Regions from separate parts of the Homo sapiens genome. Here regions 1, 3 and 4 are each linked to region 2. The links are contacts of gene promoters, found by promoter capture Hi-C in blood cells and fetal thymus (Javierre and others, 2016). All regions are on one chromosome and are shown on one strand. The core of a region is centred on a gene start or on the middle of the fragment in contact, and the rest is flanking DNA. Distances in the headings are between cores, read along the strand shown. Region 1 holds the start of DVL2 (dishevelled segment polarity protein 2). Region 2 holds the start of EIF4A1 (eukaryotic translation initiation factor 4A1). Region 3 holds the start of SLC2A4 (solute carrier family 2 member 4). Region 4 holds the start of DLG4 (discs large MAGUK scaffold protein 4).

What was found. Contacts are between HindIII fragments. The CHiCAGO score rates a contact against its expected background, and 5 or more counts as called.
Region 1: a contact is called between the fragment with the promoter of DVL2 here and the fragment with the promoter of EIF4A1 in region 2, in 16 of 17 cell types (naive B cells, fetal thymus, total CD4 T cells and 13 more). The highest score is 17.0, in naive B cells.
Region 3: a contact is called between the fragment with the promoter of SLC2A4 here and the fragment with the promoter of EIF4A1 in region 2, in 3 of 17 cell types (total CD4 T cells, non-activated CD4 T cells and fetal thymus). The highest score is 5.8, in total CD4 T cells.
Region 4: the fragment with the promoter of DLG4 here is called in contact with the fragment with the promoter of EIF4A1 in region 2 in 10 of 17 cell types (activated CD4 T cells, non-activated CD4 T cells, naive CD8 T cells and 7 more); the score reaches 9.9 in activated CD4 T cells.

What each region holds. Positions count from the first base shown.
Region 1 is chr17:7,232,537-7,235,826 of GRCh38, forward strand. It overlaps DVL2 (dishevelled segment polarity protein 2), which reads right to left and starts at 1,981. Exons shown (of 15, transcript NM_004422.3): 1 at 1,533-1,981. The coding sequence starts at 1,726. It overlaps PHF23 (PHD finger protein 23), which reads right to left. Exons shown (of 5, transcript NM_024297.3): 5 at 2,502-3,290. The coding sequence ends at 3,090. RefSeq lists a silencer at 1,719-2,018 and an enhancer at 2,129-2,178. The HindIII fragment of the contact is 14,867 bases long and covers 1-3,290 here.
Region 2 is chr17:7,571,401-7,574,491 of GRCh38, forward strand. EIF4A1 (eukaryotic translation initiation factor 4A1) reads left to right here and starts at 1,425. Exons shown (of 11, transcript NM_001416.4): 1 at 1,425-1,464; 2 at 2,860-2,908. The coding sequence starts at 1,442. It overlaps SENP3 (SUMO specific peptidase 3), which reads left to right. Exons shown (of 11, transcript NM_015670.6): 11 at 1-569. The coding sequence ends at 83. It overlaps SENP3-EIF4A1 (SENP3-EIF4A1 readthrough (NMD candidate)), which reads left to right. Exons shown (of 22, transcript NR_037926.1): 11 at 1-79; 12 at 884-1,464; 13 at 2,860-2,908. RefSeq lists enhancers at 763-822, 853-902, 923-982, 1,103-1,172, 1,679-2,434 and 2 more and silencers at 1,343-1,402, 1,413-1,472, 2,373-2,512. The HindIII fragment of the contact is 10,998 bases long and covers 1-3,091 here.
Region 3 is chr17:7,280,468-7,284,016 of GRCh38, forward strand. It overlaps SLC2A4 (solute carrier family 2 member 4), which reads left to right and starts at 1,251. Exons shown (of 11, transcript NM_001042.3): 1 at 1,251-1,500; 2 at 2,778-2,894; 3 at 3,006-3,178; 4 at 3,271-3,395; 5 at 3,507-3,549. The coding sequence starts at 1,468. RefSeq lists a silencer at 1,215-1,364 and an enhancer at 1,497-2,484. The HindIII fragment of the contact is 20,977 bases long and covers 1-3,549 here.
Region 4 is chr17:7,215,621-7,218,904 of GRCh38, forward strand. DLG4 (discs large MAGUK scaffold protein 4) reads right to left here and starts at 2,007. Exons shown (of 20, transcript NM_001321075.3): 1 at 1,498-2,007. The coding sequence starts at 1,527. It also overlaps a transcript of ACADVL not described here. RefSeq lists an enhancer at 1-337. The HindIII fragment of the contact is 10,481 bases long and covers 1-3,284 here.

The DNA.
Region 1 (3,290 bases), core at 731-3,230, 340 kb before region 2:
TTCCCGTGTGCCACACACGTGAACTAACCATTTCATTCTGTGATTTTCTCCATGTCACAGATGAGATCAAGACACAAAATTTAAATAAATTGTCCAAGATTACATTGCTGACAACTAGAAAAACCTTGCCTTAAAGCCAAGATAACTCCCAAGATAGTATCAGCATCCCCATGTCAAACAATCTTTCTAGCTAGAGTCCAGTTTGTTCAGTTCTTCTAAAACCCATGCTATCCCAACTTAATCCAGCCTGCCTTCAAAAAAGCAGAGGTTGGGCCGGGCGCGGTGGCTCACGCCTGTAATCCCAGCACTTTGGGAGGCTGAGGCGGGCGAATCACGAGGTCAGAAGTCAGAGACCAGTCTGGCTAAAACGGTGAAACCCCGTCTCTACTAAAAAATACAAAAAATTAGCCGGGTGTGGTGGCGGACGCCTGTAGTCCCAGCTACTTGGGAGGCTGAGGCAGGAGAATGGCGTGGACCCGGGAGGCAGAGCTTGCAGTGAGCTGAGAATGCGCCACTGCACTCCAGCCTGGGCGACAGAGCGAGACTGTCTCAAAAAAAAAAAAAAAAAAAAGCAGAGGTTGAGGACCCAGAAGGCTCAGCCCCAAAGACCATAAACACAAAAGGGCTTTCTCTGCATTATTTACACGCCAATCTAGTCCAAGATAGCCCTGAATGTCCCAAATTACCCTAGGATAGCCCAATCTATTCTAGCACAGCCTACAATGCCCCCACACGCAGCTGTCTGCACCAGTCTAGATTGGAACATCCCAATACGGCTGCCTGTGCTAGCACAGGCCCCAACAGCCTTGTCTGCCCCTATACCGAGTGCTCCAATAAAACCAAGTCTTGCCCCAAGAGAAACCAGGATTAACCAATACAACCCAGTAGAGTCCATAATGGCCCAAGTGTTTTTTGTTTTTTTTCTGAGACGGAGTCTCGCACTGTCGCCCAGGCTGGAGTGCAGTGGCGCGATCTCGGCTCACTGCAACCTCCGCCTCCCAGGTTCAAGAGATTCTCCCTGCTTCAGCCACCCAAGTAGCTGGGACTACAGGCGCGTGCCCCCACGCCCGGCTAATTTTTTGTATTTTTAGTTAGTAGAGATGGGGTTTCACCGTGTTAGCCAGGATGGCCTCGATCTCCTGACCTCGTGATCCGCCCGCCTCAGCCTCCCAAAGTGCTGGGATTACAGGCGTTACAGGACTCCTGAGAACGTACTAAACAACCAGACAATGGATCAATTTACTCAGTACAGACTAGAATACTCCAACATAAACCAGTATGCCCCCACCTATTCCAGTAAAGCCTAATCTTGTCTAATCTGGTTTAGGATATCCTAGTCTGTCCGTGTGCCTCAATCTATCCAAGCATAACCTTGTCCATCCTGGGATAGTCAACCTACCTCAGCATAGTACAATCTGCTCCACCATAGGCCAGAAAATCCCAGTGTGGCCCAAAGTAGACGTGTGCCCCTCCATGTCGCCCAATCCACTCTAGCAAAGCCCCCGCCGGTCCTATCTAGGCCTTGCGCTCACCCGAAATCCTGATCCATAGACTTGAAAAAGTACTTGGCGCCCGCGGGCCGCTGCAGGACGCTCTTGAAATCGCCGAGGGTGATGCGCTCGGCGGGGACAGGGATCTTCACCAGGTAGGGAGTCTCTTCCTCATCCAGGTGGTAAATCACCTTCGTCTCCCCAACCCCACCGCCCCCAGTGCTGCTACCCGCCATGGTCTCGCCCGCGCGCTCCCGGGCTCCACCGCCCACCCAAAGGGCTAATGGCCCCTGCCGCGCCTGCGCACACCCGCAAACCGACGCGCGAGCGCGGACAGGACTGACCCAGTACGGGAGAGAAGCAAAGGGGAAAAAGCACGGATCTGCGAGGGTGGCGGCGGGGGGCGGGCCGCGGGGTGCGACTCAAAGCCCCGGTCTCAGCGGCCGCCGCGCGCCACCGCCACCGACGCCGCGAGCTTCCTCCAGGTACCCGCCCACCTCTCCTCATGTCACGTGACTTAAAGGCAGCCACCCCGCGCTCCTCAGCCGCCCTCCGTCACGTGATCCCCTCCCAATCACGTGACCGTCTGACTCCGCCTAGTGCCCCCGCCACATGATCGCTGCCTTCAGCAACGGTCTCCCAGCCCCCAAACGTGTACCCCAGCCGAGGTCCTCTGAGCACCCAGGCTAAGCTGGCCTGTGCCTTCAGGAAACGGACCATCGGCTCCCACCCCGCTTTACCCCACCCACGATGGAGCACGAAGCAACTCTGACCCGCAGGAGTGTGCGTGCAGGGAGTGAAGGTGGGGACTGTGGGGGTTCCTAGACTCGAGTGGGGAGGGCCAAATACAATGAAAGCTCTAAGGTGGCTTACTTGTCTTGGGGTGGGAAAGGCCCAGTGCTGTGATATCTTCAGATTGGACTTTGAGACGTGGGTTTCAGCCCCACCTCCAGCTAGTCTTCAGCCACCAAAGCCTCCCTCCCGAGCAGGACAGTGAGGGCTATAAACACAAAAGAGCCCACTCTGCTTTATTTACAACACGCAGGCTGTCTGTACAAACAGCGGCCGATATTATTAAAAACAAAAGAGGTGAGTGAGAATCGTCACCTTTCTGCTTTCCTTCCTCACTTGGCCAGGCTCTAGTACTCCACCTTTGAGCTGCCATGCCCAATAGGGGAAGTCCAAAATTAAAAATACAACCGGTGTAGAAGAAAATAAATGGGGAGTGAAATAGAAGAAAAGATGAGGGAGGGGAGTGCTAATATTTACACTAGAGTTTTATAGACAACTGTCCCATTCCATCCCAATTCCAATCCTGACCCAGAAAGTGATGGTGGCAGGTCCAAGAGACAGAGATTATGTGTCGGGACACAGACAGCCTCCCATCCCCAACCGTAATGGATTCAATTTCAAGTCCACAGAGTGGGGAGGAAGGATAGGGTGGGAAAGTGAGACACTCATTTTCAAACAAGTCTCCCTTGAGAATTCCTGCCTTGAAGTGCAGACAGTATCCAAGCTCCAGGGGATAGGCTGAGGACCCTGAGGCTCAGTTCCCAAATCATGTTGTCATTTGGAAGTTCCAGGCTAAAGTTGGTGCCATCAGGGCTCTCCAGATTTGGGAGGCCCCCCTAACCGCCGGGCCTCTGGCCTCAGTTCCTTGCATTTCTGGCAATAAAAGAAGTCGGGGACGTTGGTCTTCTTAATCTTAGCACAGGAGAGGTGGATCCACGTCCCACACAGGCTGCACTCAATCATGGGCCGCCCTGCAAAGGGCTTTCGACAGTAACATGTGATCAGATC
Region 2 (3,091 bases), core at 175-2,674:
CATTCAGCTTCACCCAGCAGGACATGCCCAAACTTCGTCGGCAGATCTACAAGGAGCTGTGTCACTGCAAACTCACTGTGTGAGCCTCGTACCCCAGACCCCAAGCCCATAAATGGGAAGGGAGACATGGGAGTCCCTTCCCAAGAAACTCCAGTTCCTTTCCTCTCTTGCCTCTTCCCACTCACTTCCCTTTGGTTTTTCATATTTAAATGTTTCAATTTCTGTATTTTTTTTTCTTTGAGAGAATACTTGTTGATTTCTGATGTGCAGGGGGTGGCTACAGAAAAGCCCCTTTCTTCCTCTGTTTGCAGGGGAGTGTGGCCCTGTGGCCTGGGTGGAGCAGTCATCCTCCCCCTTCCCCGTGCAGGGAGCAGGAAATCAGTGCTGGGGGTGGTGGGCGGACAATAGGATCACTGCCTGCCAGATCTTCAAACTTTTATATATATATATATATATATATATATATATATATATATATATATATATATATATATATATATATATATATAAAAATATATAAATGCCACGGTCCTGCTCTGGTCAATAAAGGATCCTTTGTTGATACGTAAGTGGTGGTCTTCCTTAAGGGGCTTCAAATTAGTGGATATGCTTAGCTCAGACCTTCCAGCCAGTCTCTTGAGACTAAAGGGTTCAGCTTTCCATCCCTGGCTCAGGCACTGCCAACACCTTGTCTTCACCCAAACAAATCCCCGAGATGGGAGCAGAGAGCAGGAAGGAGGGAAAGTAGATAAGCCTCAAGAATAAGGGCATCCGAGAGGGAAGCTGGGGAACTGGACACAAGGGACTGGGGAGGGGACCAACCAGGATTCATGATAGTACCCCAAAGCCCTTTACAGTTTTCTTCCATCCCTCCACCATCCAGCCAGGGGAATCCTCCCATCCCTACGATATCGCTGTTGATTCCTTCATCCCTGGCACACGTCCAGGCAGTGTCGAATCCATCTCTGCTACAGGGGAAAACAAATAACATTTGAGTCCAGTGGAGACCGGGAGCAGAAGTAAAGGGAAGTGATAACCCCCAGAGCCCGGAAGCCTCTGGAGGCTGAGACCTCGCCCCCCTTGCGTGATAGGGCCTACGGAGCCACATGACCAAGGCACTGTCGCCTCCGCACGTGTGAGAGTGCAGGGCCCCAAGATGGCTGCCAGGCCTCGAGGCCTGACTCTTCTATGTCACTTCCGTACCGGCGAGAAAGGCGGGCCCTCCAGCCAATGAGGCTGCGGGGCGGGCCTTCACCTTGATAGGCACTCGAGTTATCCAATGGTGCCTGCGGGCCGGAGCGACTAGGAACTAACGTCATGCCGAGTTGCTGAGCGCCGGCAGGCGGGGCCGGGGCGGCCAAACCAATGCGATGGCCGGGGCGGAGTCGGGCGCTCTATAAGTTGTCGATAGGCGGGCACTCCGCCCTAGTTTCTAAGGATCATGTCTGCGAGCCAGGATTCCCGGTAAGAAAGGCATTTGCAAGAGATTGTGGCTGCTTATTTTGCCGCCCCCTTCCGACGGGCCCGCCGGGGGTAGCTGAGAGGCCCACCAGGGTTGCGGGAGAAACCGAACCGGGTGGGGGGAGGGTCCGACTTGGAGGGGCGAGGGGGAAGACCCACGGCCGACGCGGCCACCAGGTCGAGGCGGAGGGTAGGGACAGCCCGGCTAGGGTCAGGCGTGCGAGGTCTGTTACGAGGCCTCGACCCGAGGCGGTGCCATGCGCGAAGCCCCGGCGCTGAGTGGCGAGACGGGGTCGCGACCTGGCGTGGGAAAGAAAGGTGGAGGCGGCCGCCACTATGTGTGGCCCAGAGCCGGCAGGTCCGGTTGCCTCCCTGTGCCGGGGGAGGGACGGCGCGCGGGGTTCCGGAGCATTCTGACGGTACCACTCGCGAGAGGCGGGGGTGCCTGGTCCTTAGATCCAGTCACTTCGTCGCGGCTAAAACACGGGTCGGGGAGAAGAAACCGGCCGTTCAGTGTGCTGGTTTTCTTGACGGCCAGGACTGAGCCTAACCCCGAGGAGCGGCCGCGTGAGGCACCAGGAGCCCACCCGGCGCCGGGCGGGCGGGTCCATTTTGCCGCACAAGCCGGGCTATTGGCAAACTGCGGATGGGCAGGTCCACCTTCCTTCGGGGGTGAGCGGCCTGAGGTATGGGAGGGCGACGCTACTTCGCGACGGGGGCGGGCGGGATGTGGATTGTTCATGGAGGGGTGGGAGACGCCGCCGGGTGGTCGAGGGAGCGAGCACATGGTGGCCTGAGGCGTTCCCCTCCCCCAGTCTGCTTCGCTTCTAAGTGTTGTGCAATCTCCCCCTTTGCTAGCTCGGCTTGGGCTCATTGTGCGCGAGGCCGCCACCGCCCGCGGCCTCCCACATCCGGGCAACGCGAGGGGGGGGCTTCGGCTGGAGGGAGTGGGGGAGGGCGCGGGCGGGATGACGTGGGGGGAAGGGGATGTCCTACCCTCCGATCTGGGAGGTGAAGGGCGGGACTTCCAGCGCGCTGGTGCTGCGGTGGGAGGTGCACGCGCTTGGGCTTTAAGCGGCTGGGTCGGGCCCACGTGGACCCGGCGGCAAGCACCACCTCTGGGCACCGTGAGCGCGGCGGCACGCCTGCCGGCCTGTCTTCAGAAAGGGTCACCCCCTTATGTCGGGGGTGGCCTGGCCTGAGCCGCTGCCTGCATGGGGCAAATGCCTCAGTTTTATAGAAACTCCTCCTTTGGGTATTTTTTGGGAGCTGGTGGGAGTTGGATCTGGGACAGCAGATTGATGGCATCATGCAGGCCACTCCTGACAGAGCCCGGCTGTCAGGATTTCTGAGTGCTTCGGTCGGGCAGGGGACAAAACTTATGCTTTAAACCAACAGATCCAGAGACAATGGCCCCGATGGGATGGAGCCCGAAGGCGTCATCGAGGTGAGACTGGAGAAATGGAATTCTGTCCTCCCCCATTACAACTTTCAGCCGTATAGAGTTAGAGTGGCCTCTTGATTGATTTCCCAGATCATCTAGAAGCAGCTGGTTTCCCTAAAGGGAGGAGGGTTGTAAGCTCTGAGGCTTTTGTTAGTAGGCACCAGATTCTGTTTGCTCGGAGACTAC
Region 3 (3,549 bases), core at 1-2,500, 290 kb before region 2:
AGGAGGAATCGAGCCTGACTTCTACCATAGGGGTGACTGGGCGGGTAATTCATTGAAATAAGGAAGTTAGGAGGAGGAGCAGGTTTGGACATGCTGATCACTAGAGCTGCCACATCCGGGCGGTAACGAACACCTGGATCTGCAGCTCCAGAGAAGGGCCTGGGTCAGATGTCACTGAAGCCCTATGGTGGCGGAAAGGCGAGAAATAGTGGGTTGAGATTCCAAGTGCAATCCACTGCGGCTCCTCGCTCGCCCTCCAGGTGGCAGCACAACCCTGCGCTTCCGAAGCCCGTTTTCTGAGCCAGACACTCTCCACGCTCTGGGTATTTCGGCTTCTCTCTCCCCACACGCCGACCCTAGGTCGCGCACTTTCTGCCTGGCAGAATTTGGCCGAGGATCCAAACCCGGAGCAGCCTCCAGAGAGCGTGTCGTTCACGCGGCCAGCATATGCTCAGAGACCTCAGAGGCTCAGAGACCTCAGGGCTGGTGGTGTGGTCGGTTGTGACCACTTGTCCCTCGGACCGGCTCCAGGAACCAACCTGGGGAATGTGTGTAGGGGAAGGGCGGGATAGACAGTGCCCGGAGCAGGGAGGCGCTGAAAGACAGGACCAAGCAGCCCGGCCACCAGACCCGTTGTGGGAACGGAATTTCCTGGCCCCCAGGGCCACACTCGCGTGGGAAGCATGTCGCGGACTCTTTAAGGCGTCATCTCCCTGTCTCTCCGCCCCCGCCTGGGACAGGCCGGGACGCCCGGGACCTGACATTTGGAGGCTCCCAACGTGGGAGCTAAAAATAGCAGCCCCGGGTTACTTTGGGGCATTGCTCCTCTCCCAACCCGCGCGCCGGCTCGCGAGCCGTCTCAGGCCGCTGGAGTTTCCCCGGGGCAAGTACACCTGGCCCGTCCTCTCCTCTCAGACCCCACTGTCCAGACCCGCAGAGTTTAAGATGCTTCTGCAGCCCGGGATCCTAGCTGGTGGGCGGAGTCCTAACACGTGGGTGGGCGGGGCCTTTTGTTCCAGGGACTCTTTTCTCAAAACTTCCCAGTCGGAGGCTGGCGGGAACCCGAGAGGCGTGTCTCGCCAGCCACGCGGAGGGGCGTGGCCTCATTGGCCCGCCCCACCAACTCCAGCCAAACTCTAAACCCCAGGCGGAGGGGGCGTGGCCTTCTGGGGTGTGCGGGCTCCTGGCCAATGGGTGCTGTGAAGGGCGTGGCCCGCGGGGGCAGGAGCGAGGTGGCGGGGGCTTCTCGCGTCTTTTCCCCCAGCCCCGCTCCACCAGATCCGCGGGAGCCCCACTGCTCTCCGGGTCCTTGGCTTGTGGCTGTGGGTCCCATCGGGCCCGCCCTCGCACGTCACTCCGGGACCCCCGCGGCCTCCGCAGGTTCTGCGCTCCAGGCCGGAGTCAGAGACTCCAGGATCGGTTCTTTCATCTTCGCCGCCCCTGCGCGTCCAGCTCTTCTAAGACGAGATGCCGTCGGGCTTCCAACAGATAGGCTCCGAAGTAGGATTCATCATGAGGGGGCGGGGCGGGGGGGCACGGGTCCCGCTTTTCTTGGGCTGGGGTCGCGGTTGGGGTCAGCTGGGGGTGGTTCCTGCGCAGGCGCAGGGGGTGAAGGTAGGGGGCTGGCTATTTATACCCGGCCTGGACAACCCGTGACTGTGAGATTCCAATCCTACCAAAAGGCAGAGTGGGTCTGGAGGGCCTTTCGGGGCACAGGCAGCAAGTGGATTCTGCGAGCCAGGGTTCACCCCCTTGCCTAGTAGGCGGCGCGGCGCTCCGGAATCGGGGACACCCTGCCCTCGATCCGACTCGGGAAAGCAGATCCAGGCGGGTCTTGCCCTCCGGGAGCTGTCCGTCCGTCTTCGCTCACGGGCAGTGTTTCGAGGACCGGAGGCTCTCCGTGGGCCCCCACCCCCACTCCTGGCCGCCCTCCAGGACGCTGAACTTTCCCTTGGCCCCATGGTTGGTGGAGGGGCAGAGGGGACTGTCAGCCCCCCCTCCTCCAGCTCAGGTTTCCGCTTGGAGACAGTCTGTGCCGCCAGCGAGCGGCCACCACTGCCACCGCCCCTCACACTACCTTCCTGCCCTCCTCCCCTGGGCATGGCTCTCCCAGGCAGAACCCCTGGACGGCCCTCCCTGCACGGAGGTTAGAGGGGGAGGGCAGGCCACGACGTAGATAGAGAAGGCCACCCCTAGATGACCGGGATGTCCTTTCTGGAACAGCACTTCTTGGTCCTGTTGGGGGCCTCCTGGAGCTGGCTGACAGAACCCCCAGAGGGGAGGGAAGAGGACAGTGGCTGATGATAATAATGCACGTGTTAATTTATGAAACCAGCACTGTCAAGGATATTGTTAACATGTGATGTTGATTTTCACAACACTCTCACAGATAGGTAGGCAAGGCAGGCAACATCACCCCCATCTCACAGAGGACACTCAGGTTCGGGGCAGGGAAGTGACTTGGCCAAGGTCACACAAATCTGAGCTCTTAAGGCCAAGCCTGTCTCAAGGTCACAGAAGAATTTTGAGACAAGTTCTCAAACATTTCTCTGCCTTATGGACCCAAACATCCAGTTTCTCCTTTATGCCCAGGTTGCAGTTCAGCTCCTGTTTACATTGAGATCTTTGTGCAATTCCTAATATGGCCCAGTTTCCCTCACCCAACATGTTGGGTGGAGCCCAGTATCTTCAGGCTCCAGCTGGGCCCGGGCCCCTAGCGGAAGGAAAAAAATCATGGTTCCATGTGACATGCTGTGTCTTTGTGTCTGCCTGTTCAGGATGGGGAACCCCCTCAGCAGCGAGTGACTGGGACCCTGGTCCTTGCTGTGTTCTCTGCGGTGCTTGGCTCCCTGCAGTTTGGGTACAACATTGGGGTCATCAATGCCCCTCAGAAGGTGAGGGCCTGCAGCTGGCAGGGTGGGGGTACCCAAACGAGGAGGACAGGTGTCTCGGGGGTGGTGGAAAGGGGACGGTCTGCAGGAAATCTGTCCTCTGCTGTCCCCCAGGTGATTGAACAGAGCTACAATGAGACGTGGCTGGGGAGGCAGGGGCCTGAGGGACCCAGCTCCATCCCTCCAGGCACCCTCACCACCCTCTGGGCCCTCTCCGTGGCCATCTTTTCCGTGGGCGGCATGATTTCCTCCTTCCTCATTGGTATCATCTCTCAGTGGCTTGGAAGGTTCGCAGCTGGAGGGCAGGGGTGGGGGAAACAGGAAGGGAGCCACTGCTGGGTGCCCTCACCCTCACAGCCTCACTCTGTCTGCCTGCCAGGAAAAGGGCCATGCTGGTCAACAATGTCCTGGCGGTGCTGGGGGGCAGCCTCATGGGCCTGGCCAATGCTGCTGCCTCCTATGAAATGCTCATCCTTGGACGATTCCTCATTGGCGCCTACTCAGGTACTCACGGGCACCACAGCCCTGCCTAGCGCCCTGTTCTCTTTCACCATGCCTGGGCTTTCAGATGGGAATGGACACCTGCCCTCAGCCCTCTCTTCTTCCCTCGCCCAGGGCTGACATCAGGGCTGGTGCCCATGTACGTGGGGGAGATTGC
Region 4 (3,284 bases), core at 757-3,256, 360 kb before region 2:
AGCCCGAAACCCACAGAATGAAGGACAAGAAAGTCGCCCTGGTGGAGAGAGGGTGGGGGCTCCAGATCTAAAGGTCCTCAGCCCCCAATCTCTTCCAACCATCCTCACACGTGCACAATGCATGTGTACACACATGTGTGAGTTTGTGGCAGGGAACATGTGTGTCCTCAGCTCCCTCCCATGAAAAGCTGCAGTTCCCACTAAATATAACCCCCTCCCCAGCCTGTGACTCACCCGGACCCCGCCTCCCCCGGCCCCCACTTCCTGTCCCACCCCCCAGCCCCCAGCTGCCTGCCACCCGCCCAAGCCTCCCTCCACACACCAGGCATCCAGCTCTCCAGTCCCAGAGTCTCCAAGGAGAGCCTAGGTATCTGCATCCCACCAGGAGCTCGCCTGTGCTCCATCCGAGATCTCCTGCCTTTGCCAGGCTCCAACCAGAGGGACACTCTTGCACAGATCCCCATCGCTGCCAGCCCTGCCCTCCTCCTACACCTTTTCACCCCAGTAACCTCAGTAACTTCGGTCATAAGCCCTCAGGGACCCTTAAATCCAGGTGTCCTCCCCCACCTTGATCCCAAGCGTCAGGGGTATCTGGAACAGTCCCCACATCTGCTCTTCTCCCTCTCTCTTGATCAGGGCTAGATACAGTGTGGGAGGAGATGGGGATATTGGGCACCTGCCTTTGGGCCACCCCCAAATTGTGCACCACCCACCCGGTCCCCCTCCTCAAATCCCCTCTCTCCCTAAGCCTCTCATCCTCCTCCTCAGGGGCTGGCAAGCTCGGCTGCTGCAATCTTCTGCCTCCTATGGGAGTACCCCCAAATCCTTGCCTCACCTGGTCCATTCCCTCAGGTGATCCCATGCCAGGGCCCCAGCCCTCTGACAACTTCCAACTACCTCCATTCTATATGACTGAACCCTAAATTAACAGTTCCCTCAAATTGAGAGAGCATCCCTAAATGCAGCCACCACGAGATGCTTGTTCTAGAGTCTGAAGGCCCACCCCTTCCCTGCCAGCTGACACCCCCAGATCAGTCAGGCACTCACAACCAATAACCTTTACCCCATGCCAGGAGCCCCCCAAAACTGGACAAGGCCCTTGGAAGCCAGCTTTTCCCTGGGGAGGAAAGAGGAACCCCCCAACATAGCCCACCTTCCCACATACACCAGCAGGACTCCCTTATGAGCCAGGCTTCTCCTTAAATAAGTCTCCCTCAAACAGCGCTGATGAACCCCCAAACCCGCCAGGCCCCCCGAACCATGGAATATCCTAAATTTTCCATATCCCTACAGGTACAAAGGGATCACTCCAGGGGGCACCTGTGGCCAAATCCTGCATTTTCTCAGATGTGAACCCCAAAACTAAATTAAGACCCCCAAATACATCTTACTTCTGATGCTGCCACTCCAGGGGCGCCAGTCCCAGATAAGGCCTACTAACCCCTCCCCACAAACTCATACCCTCCCCCCAGTTTATAGCCCCCCCATCATGCTTACCTTGGTTGTCACTATACAGAGACAGTCCATGTTGGGGGGCCTGGCCGCGGCGGCGGGTAAGGGGCTCTGACTTCATCGGAGTTTCGTTCCTCCCCTCCGTGGGTTCTCACCCCTCCCCCCTCCGCACCCCACTTTTGCAGGGGGGGCCAGGATGGGGGGAGGGGTGAGAGGGGAAGGAGGGGGTTGGAGAAGGGAAGGGGAGGGGAGCGTGGGAGGGAGGGGAAGGGGGCCCTAAAAGGGGCTCCCCAGTGGAGGGGAGGGGGCTTGGGGAGCACACCCCGATTCTCAGGAGGGGCGGGGGCACCGGGGGCTGGCAGCCCCGGAGTTCGGGGGCTGGGGCATGAGCTGGGGTGGGGGAGGGGAACTGGATTTCGGGGAGCCCCGGGGTAGGGGGGGGTCTTGCCAAACGGCCAGGGGCTAGGGGCCGTGGCGGGGGAGTGGGGTGGGGGGGTTGGAAACGGCAGCGGCCGAGGGAGCCGTGGAGCCGAAGAGGGAAGGGGAGAGAGGAGGAGAGAGGAAGCAGGGGGAGGGAGGGAGGGAGCTAGGAGCCAGAATGGGGGGGGTGCCTTGGCAGAGTTAACTCCTTCTGTGCTGGCAGGAACCCGGATAATGGGAAAGGAGATAGAAGCAGAAGCACAGAGGCCCCTGAGGCAAACATGGAGACCTGGCCAGCCACCAGCGATGACAGCAAAGACGATGAGGCTGGATTTCATTTCTTAGAGAAGGAAGCATCTATAGTTGGGCTGGGAGCACCCACGGTTATTTGAATACGGGAGGGAGGCCTCTCGGCAGGCGGTAGGGGGTCGGGTGTGAGGGAGGAGCTGAAGGAGGCAATCCCTGGGGGCCTAGTTCTCCCTCAGGTTTCTCAGGGGGAAACCTAAAAAGTTAAGCCCTAGACTCTTTAGTGCCTGAAACTGGGGCAGCCAAAGAAAACGAGGAAGAAAGGGAGAGTGGGTACAGGACCACAGAGAGTGCATTCTCGGTGCCCCAAGTCCCTGGGCCACTGACTCAGGCTTTTGTCAGCAGGGCCCCCAAGATTCCAGGTAATATTAGTGATATTTGGCTCACCCCTCCAGCCCTGCCTGCCCCTCAGGAAGTTAGGCGCTCGCCCCCACCTCCTTACCTGACTCTCTGAGAGGGAAGCCTCATAATAGTCCAGGATGTCTGTCACAGGAACAGAACTGAGTTACCTCCCCACCCCAGGCCTCTCCAGGCACATCACCCCTGTCATCACCGCTGCTGGCTGGCTGGCAAGGGAGGAGCCCTTTCAGCCAAGGCTGGTCCACACTCATGGAGGACACCATAGGCAGGACCCTGCATGGTGCTCCAGCTTGGACCAAATGATCTCTGGGCTCCCAAACAGCCCCCGAAGTTCAGTAATGGCCCTTGGAGGCCCAGGTCCCTCAGAAAACGGGCTACTCACCCAGCAAGGCCTGGAAGAGGTCGCTATGCAGCACTGTGAGGAGTGGGGGTGCCCACCGCAGCAGTGGGGGTGCCAGGAGCCAGAGGGCTGACCTGGGAGCTAGTGAGATGCAAGGAGAATTGGGACAGGGAAGATGCCAACACAGGAAGATGAACACACTGTCACTTCATCTCCCCAGACTGTGCCCTTCACCCCAGCCCCTACGGAAAGATTTGGGGAGAAGGATCTCCGAGCCCCAGCCCCCCACTTCGCTCCCAGACCTCCCCTCCACAAGGAGCCCTGTTTTTCACCTCTTGGTCTCTGGGACATCTCTCTCTTCTCTCACTTTAATCTCCCTAATCCTCCAGGATTGGAGTTGAGCTGC